Regions from separate parts of the Homo sapiens genome. Here region 2 is linked to region 1. Evidence: promoter capture Hi-C in 16 types of primary human blood cells and fetal thymus (Javierre and others, 2016). All regions are on one chromosome and are shown on one strand. Each heading gives the region's core, a stretch centred on a gene start or on the middle of the fragment in contact. The rest is flanking DNA. Distances are from core to core; before and after follow the strand shown.

Region 1 (3,190 bases), core at 374-2,873:
TGCCCCTTTAGAGAAGTCATGAAGCTTTGCCGGCAAGCACAGAGTCTAGCTTAGAAAACACAACCAGGGCCAGGAGTGGTGTGGCTCATGCCTGCAAATCCAGCACTTTGGGAGGCCAAGGCTTAGAGGATCACTTGAGCCCAGGAGTTCAAGACCAGCATGGGTAATATAGTGAGAACTTGTCTCTACAAAAAATTTTAAAACTAGCCAGGCATGGTGGTACACACTGGTAGTCCCAGCCACTTGGGAGGCTGAGGTGGGAGGATCCTTTGAGCCTGGGAGGCAGAGGTTGCAGTGAGCTGAGATTGTGCCACTGCACTCCAGCCTGGGTAACAGAATGAGACCCTGTCTCAAAAGAAAAAAATAAAAAGACCACCAGGGCCCAGGCACAGAGCCTGGAGCGGGGAAGAGATAGCGGAGTTAACTGTGAATCCTGATTGCACTGACCACAGTCTAGTGAGCAACACATGTTTCCTTTTGAATATGAGTGGGAATCACCTTTAAAACTATATAACATTTGCATCTTCTCAAAAGCCCCAGGTCCTACTAAGATTGACTTAGGGCTACATATCAGGTCTCATTTTCAAGGAGGAAACACAGGGAAGCCTCAAGATGTGCAGAAGAGAGGGATGTGGGGAATACACCCAACCACTCCTCTGCTGAGGTTGGAACAGAACAAGGAAAGTCCCCGGACCTCCTCTCAGCAGGCAGAGAAGTGCGGGGCCTCCCTCTGGCAAAGCCTGCAGATGTGGCCAGCATACCTCCATACACACAGCTTCAGAGGCAAGGGTGTCCAAGGGAGTCTTAAGTTTTATCAGAAATAATGTCATTCGACTGACCAGTAAGGGGAGCTTTCAGAAAGTTATGGAAGAAGATGCGACAGACACAGGAAGGACTTCAGAAGCAAGAAGACAACTGGACTCTCTAAAATGCCACTCCGAAAGCGAAAAGGGAAGCCCACAGACCCACGAAGACGTGCTGGCCTCGTGTTGCCAGTTCTGTTTCTCTTTCAATACCCATCTCTTCAGATTGAAGGGCTTCTGCCTTCTTGCAGTTTTTGCTGACACGTTTACCCATTTACAAACCTTGGCTGCACCTAACTTTTTTTTTTTTTTTTTTTTTTTTTTTTTTTTAGCATTTAAGTTCCTAGCCAAAATACCCGGGCCTCTAGGAAAGCCCTTTTCTCTCCCTCTGAGATCTTTCCTTACCAACCCCAGCCTCCCAACCCGGGTGTCCTAGGTGGGACCAGGGACGATCCTTCGGAGTTGGTCAAGGAGGCGTCGGAACAGCAGGCATTTGCCCTTCTAGTTGGCAGCAGCGATGAGCCGCGTGCTCCATGCTCAGGGCAGGGGCAGCCGCCCGGGGAAGGGGCGCCCGATACACCGCTCACCGCTCAGCCCCGCGTCTCCCTCCGGGGTCCTTTACCTCCATGTCCTTCAGGTGCCGACTCTGCGGCAGACGCACCCGCTCGCCCGGGCCGGAGCTCACGATCCCCGCTGTCCCCTCCGCTCCCGGCCGTGGCCAGTTTCGGGCTGCGGCGGGCACAGGGCGAGTGGGCGGTGGCGCGCGCCCGGCTGCGCTCGGCTGCGGGACTGCCCCGGCCGCGGGGGCCCTGCGCGAGAGAACGAGGAAGGAGGAGGAGGGAGGGAGGGAGGAAGGGGAGGGGAGGGGAGGGTGGGGAGCGGGGAGGGAGGCCGACGATCAGGGTTTAAATTTAGACGCAAATCTAAACAGATACTGTCCCTCCCAGGGCAGGACTCAAGAGCGGGAGCCACGACTCCATGTGCCCAAACATGGGGATGGGCAGCCACCGGGCCCCTCTGTCTCGCGAAGTTTCTCAGGACCCTGGGCTTTGCCACGGTCTCAGTCCTTCTCAACGTCTCCCTCCCTTAATGCGCCTTCTTTCTTTTTCCTGTCCCTTCAAGAATTAGAGTGGTCCTTTAATTCTTTTTGTTTCCTCTCTTTTCGATTTCCTTCTTTTGTGTCCATCCTTCCTGCTTTCCTTCTTCCTCTCCCTCTTTTTAAAATTGCATTACTGTCATACCTGGTTTCCCTGCAGTTCTTGGGTGGAGTTCGAGGACCCTCCCTGGTGGAAGGCGTTTGTGTTCTACCAAAAGAGGAGCCCTTCTGACCGAGGCTTCAGAGCTCAGCGTGGCGCCGACGGGACCACCTTTCCCTTCTCACCTCTTTTCCTCTCCACCTTCCAGGAAACCACTATCTATCCATCTATCCATCTATCTTCTGTATACGAGTAGAAGGAGGAGGAGGAGGAGGAAAATCAGGAATCCACGCAAAGTTTTCCAAGCTCCCTGAAGTGGTAAATCTTTTCTTCAAACCTTGCTTTGACTGATGCATTCGGTTTTGTGGGAATTTTGGCTCCCACAAGCTGCTTGCTAAAGGGCCTCGTCTCCATTCCTGTTAAATATAGCAAAGGGCAAGATGCTCAACATCTGATTCCCATAGGGCCCAGCATAGCAACCTTCCTTTAGGGCCATCCCGGCTGGGCAGCAGAGACCGCATGGGAGGGATTCGGGGACTGGAATCTGCACCAGGGTCACTCCCTGCTACCCGGATCCCGGCCCCCTTCAGACCCTTCGGCAGAGAGAAACAGGAAAATGCCTTGAGAGACCTGTGAGTGCCAGGGTATTGGCTGGGTATATGACGCCTCTGGGTTATCCCACAGCATTCTCACCCGCCCAACCCCAGCTCAACCAGGGGAGGGGAGCCCCATCAGAGGTGGGCAATGGGACAGGTGATGGTGAGCACTGTGAAGAGACATGTGGAGAAACAGTAGAGAAAAAAGGCTGAGAGTCTGCTCCTGCTACAAAGACTACCCTGATTCTGGTTATCCCGGCACCATCTTTGCACTTTCAGGCACTTAGATTGCTGCTTTGGGTACCAGTCTTAGAAATATGGCCTCCTTCCTGTCCTAGAACTTTCTAAGGCCCAACTTTCTAAAACACTGGCAGCCCTAATGCCAGAGTGGCTTCTAGTTCTTTAGCTTAGCTAAGCATAGAGGAAGACGCCTGGTTTTAGGAACAGACAGATTGAGGGCTGAATTCCAGCTCTGCTACTTTCTAGTTGTATTTTTTAGACAAGTCACTTAACTGCTCTGATTCTCATTTTCCTCACCTATACAATGTAGTAGGCACTCTGCAAAAAGTGGCTGTTTTTATCATGCTTAGCCCCA
Region 2 (3,190 bases), core at 499-2,998, 180 kb after region 1:
TCTGTCTCAAAAAAAAAAAAAAAAAAAAAGAAAAGAAAAATGATCACAAAGTATCGCTCAAAACATAACAACTTTAATGGAAATAAAAATACAAGAAGAGAAACATTTGCTCATAAAGCGCTACCCCTAAGAAATCATACAGCCCTGTTCTTCCCTCTTCCCTTGGAACCCTTATCTATGGGAATACATAATTTGTAGGTAGTTTTGAACAAATGATCCAATTTTACAATGAAACATGAATATTTGAAATCTGACACTGAGGAGAGAATTAAGGAGGCTGTGGTACTTTTTAAAAAAATTTTTGTTTATTTATTTTTTTAGACAGAGTCTCACTCTATGGCCCAGGCTGGAGTGCAGTGGTGCTATCTCAACTCACTGCAACCTCCACCTCCTGGGTTCAAGCGATTCTTTTGCCTCAGCGTCTTGAGTAGCTGGTATTACAGGCGCCCGCCACCACACCTAGCTAATTTTTTGTATTTTTAGTAGAGATGTGGTTTCACCCTGTTGGCCAGGCTGGTAGCAAATTAAAGAGAGTAGTAAAACATTATATGTTGCCAGTAAATTAGCTGGAGTCGTTCTGCAGTTCAGGGTGATTGAGGTATCTCCAGTGGGTCATTGCTATAAGCACTGGGCAGTGTGAGTCCTGGCCTCACATTTGGTAGCAGGCCTTCTGTATCTGTCAACCCCCCAGGCCGGCCTCTCAGCCCTCAATGAAAGAAAGCTAATTGTAGAGTCAAGAATATGACCTGCTATAATGGTTCGATCCTGGGAGAAGGGACTCCACAGCCTGGTGAGGACCCCTCTCACCACCTCTGAGGATCAGCAAGTCTTTGAAGGTCAGTACCAAGTGGTGGTTAAGACCTGGACTGTGGATCCAGATGTGCCTGGATTCAACCCTGGCTGTAGACATTAGGCATGTTATTAACTTCTCTGAGCCTCAGTTTCCCTAGCTGTGAAATCAGAGTCACTGTGAAGACTGAATGAGAAAACTCACACGTGTGGTTCCTGGCCCAGAACAAATCTTCAACCAGTGGTTATAACTATTACTCTGTGTGTCTAGCCTATATCTTTTCTGCTGCAGTGAAAGTTAGTTATTCGATGAAAGGGAGCAACCCACTGAGGGGGATGGTCTGGGTGCCTGGATGCTGTGGTCAATGGGTCGGCATCACACCCAGCACCCTGCCCAACACAGACACCGCCCCCACCCCCCCACCCATAGCTGCTGCCACTGCCTTCCTAAGAACAGTGACTTCCTGTTTTCTAAGTTTTTACCCTGCAATGTCATCACCAGTTGTGCCTGAGCCTGGGGGTGGAGCTGGCAGCAGCAGGACTCAGGGCTCAAAGTTGGGGACTCAAAGGAAGGAAGGTTGGCGAGTAGAAAGCTGGCCACTCCTACCTGGATCATGAGCTACTGTGATTCATATTGATTCCATCAGTGCCTACAAACTGAGCGCTTACCAGGTACCAAGCCCTTCCCATTTGAGTGTCACACACCCTGGGAGGTCGCTGTGATTACTCAGTGATTACACAGTAGCAACACCAGGACTTGGATTGCAGTTGTCGCCTTCGTAGGATTCATTCTTACCTGCCGTGCTTCCTATCAAAGTGGAAACAAGCTGGACGGGGGTGAGGTTTGAAAGGCTGCCCTATAGAAATTGGAGGATCTGTGTGATTTGTGCTTCTGAAGGCAGAACTAGGTTCAAAGTTTTTTTTTTAACTCTGAAAATTAGAGCTCTCCACCAGTGATTGCTGGGTGCTGAGCTTCCTGTCACCAGAGATATTCAAGCAGAGGCCAGAAGTGCCTACCAAAGAAGAAACTCCTGAAAGAGGTGGGAAGCTCTCTATATGACAGGAACCCCAGAGGCACTGGGATAAGGTAGATTGAGAAGGGACTTTGCATCAGATGCACTCAGAAAATCTCTAGCCATGTGACCTATTGGAGCTGCAACGTCATTATCTGCAAAATAGAATTGGTAATAATTCTGCCCGTATTGTGCAAGGTTGTTCTGAGGATTAAGCCAGATCATGCAAGTGCAAAGAGCTCTCTAAACTGTATGCTTCATGCATGTGTTACATCATTATCATTTTGTGAAGTGAGGAGTTCTCAGAAAGTCTACACACTACTGAGCTCCCACTGTGTGCCAGGCACTTTGTACACACCCATTATCTCTTTTTATTTTTTTTGAGACGGAGTCCCACTCTGTTGTCCAGGCTGGAGTGTAGTGGCGTAATCTCCGCTTACTGCAAGCTCCACCTCCTGGGTTCACACCATTCTCCTGCCTCAGCCTCCTGAGCAGCTGGGACCACAGGTGCCTGCCACCACGCCCGGCTAATTTTTTTGTATTTTTTAGTAGAGACGGGGTTTCACCATGTTAGCCAGGATGGTCTCGATCTCCTGACCTCATGATCCGCCCGCCTCGGCCTCCCAAAGTGCTGGGATTATAGGCGTGAGCCACCGCGCCTGGCCCCCATTATCTGTTTTTATCTTCAAACACCCCTGAAGAGTGGGTATCCCCATCCTGGGCTGGGAAACCTGGCCAGGTTCTGTCCCCAACCGTGGCATGATGGTGTGGGAGGTCAGAGGGCCATCCCCTGCTGTCACTCCTTGTACCTGCAGAGCCTCTTAGCATGCGCCACTGTGCAGGGCACCCCACAAACTTTACCTCATTTCTCTGCACCCGTGAAATCGGTCTTGTCAAAGCCCTTCTGCAGATAGGAGAATTGACGCTCAGAGAGGTTAAGAAAACTGTTCCAAAACAAGCCAATAATGGGGCAGATTCCACATTTGAGTCTTAGAGTCTTTCTGACTCAAAGACTTATTATGTTCTTTGCTCTTCTCTAAGCCTGTGATGTGCGGGTGAGGAGGGAAAGGTGCAAATGAAACTATAAGGCACCATCTGTGCTTGCCAGAGCCAGTGGTGGGGGGCGGACTTGAAGTGGAACGTTTACAAGCCGTTGTGACTAAGTGTCAAAAGTGGGCAAAATGGCAAGGGCTGTGAAATCAGAGGTAGGTGGAAACTCCGGATCCTGAGCCCATAGGTCAGCTGCATCGAAGCCATAAGGCTAAGAGAAGTACCTGGAGTCAGGAGACCCAGGAATTCCCTTCCAGCTTTGCCACTAACCTGCAGGTGTCCTTGGTGAAGTTGCTTCATTCCTCTGATCTCAGTTTATCCACCTGTGAATTGGGCCC

What was found. Contacts are between HindIII fragments. The CHiCAGO score rates a contact against its expected background, and 5 or more counts as called.
Region 2: a contact is called between a fragment that was not itself captured here and the fragment with the promoter of RCSD1 in region 1, in 1 of 17 cell types (non-activated CD4 T cells). The highest score is 6.4, in non-activated CD4 T cells.

The regions. Positions count from the first base shown.
Region 1 is chr1:167,628,665-167,631,854 of GRCh38, reverse strand. RCSD1 (RCSD domain containing 1) reads right to left here and starts at 1,623. Exons shown (of 7, transcript NM_052862.4): 1 at 1,426-1,623. The coding sequence starts at 1,431. RefSeq lists an enhancer at 837-906 and silencers at 1,447-1,666, 1,687-1,766. The HindIII fragment of the contact is 3,174 bases long and covers 27-3,190 here.
Region 2 is chr1:167,445,989-167,449,178 of GRCh38, reverse strand. All of the region lies in intron 1 of CD247 (CD247 molecule), which reads left to right. Among named protein-coding and RNA genes, the nearest start is that of CD247, 71 kb to the left of the region's middle. The HindIII fragment of the contact is 5,276 bases long and covers 1-3,190 here.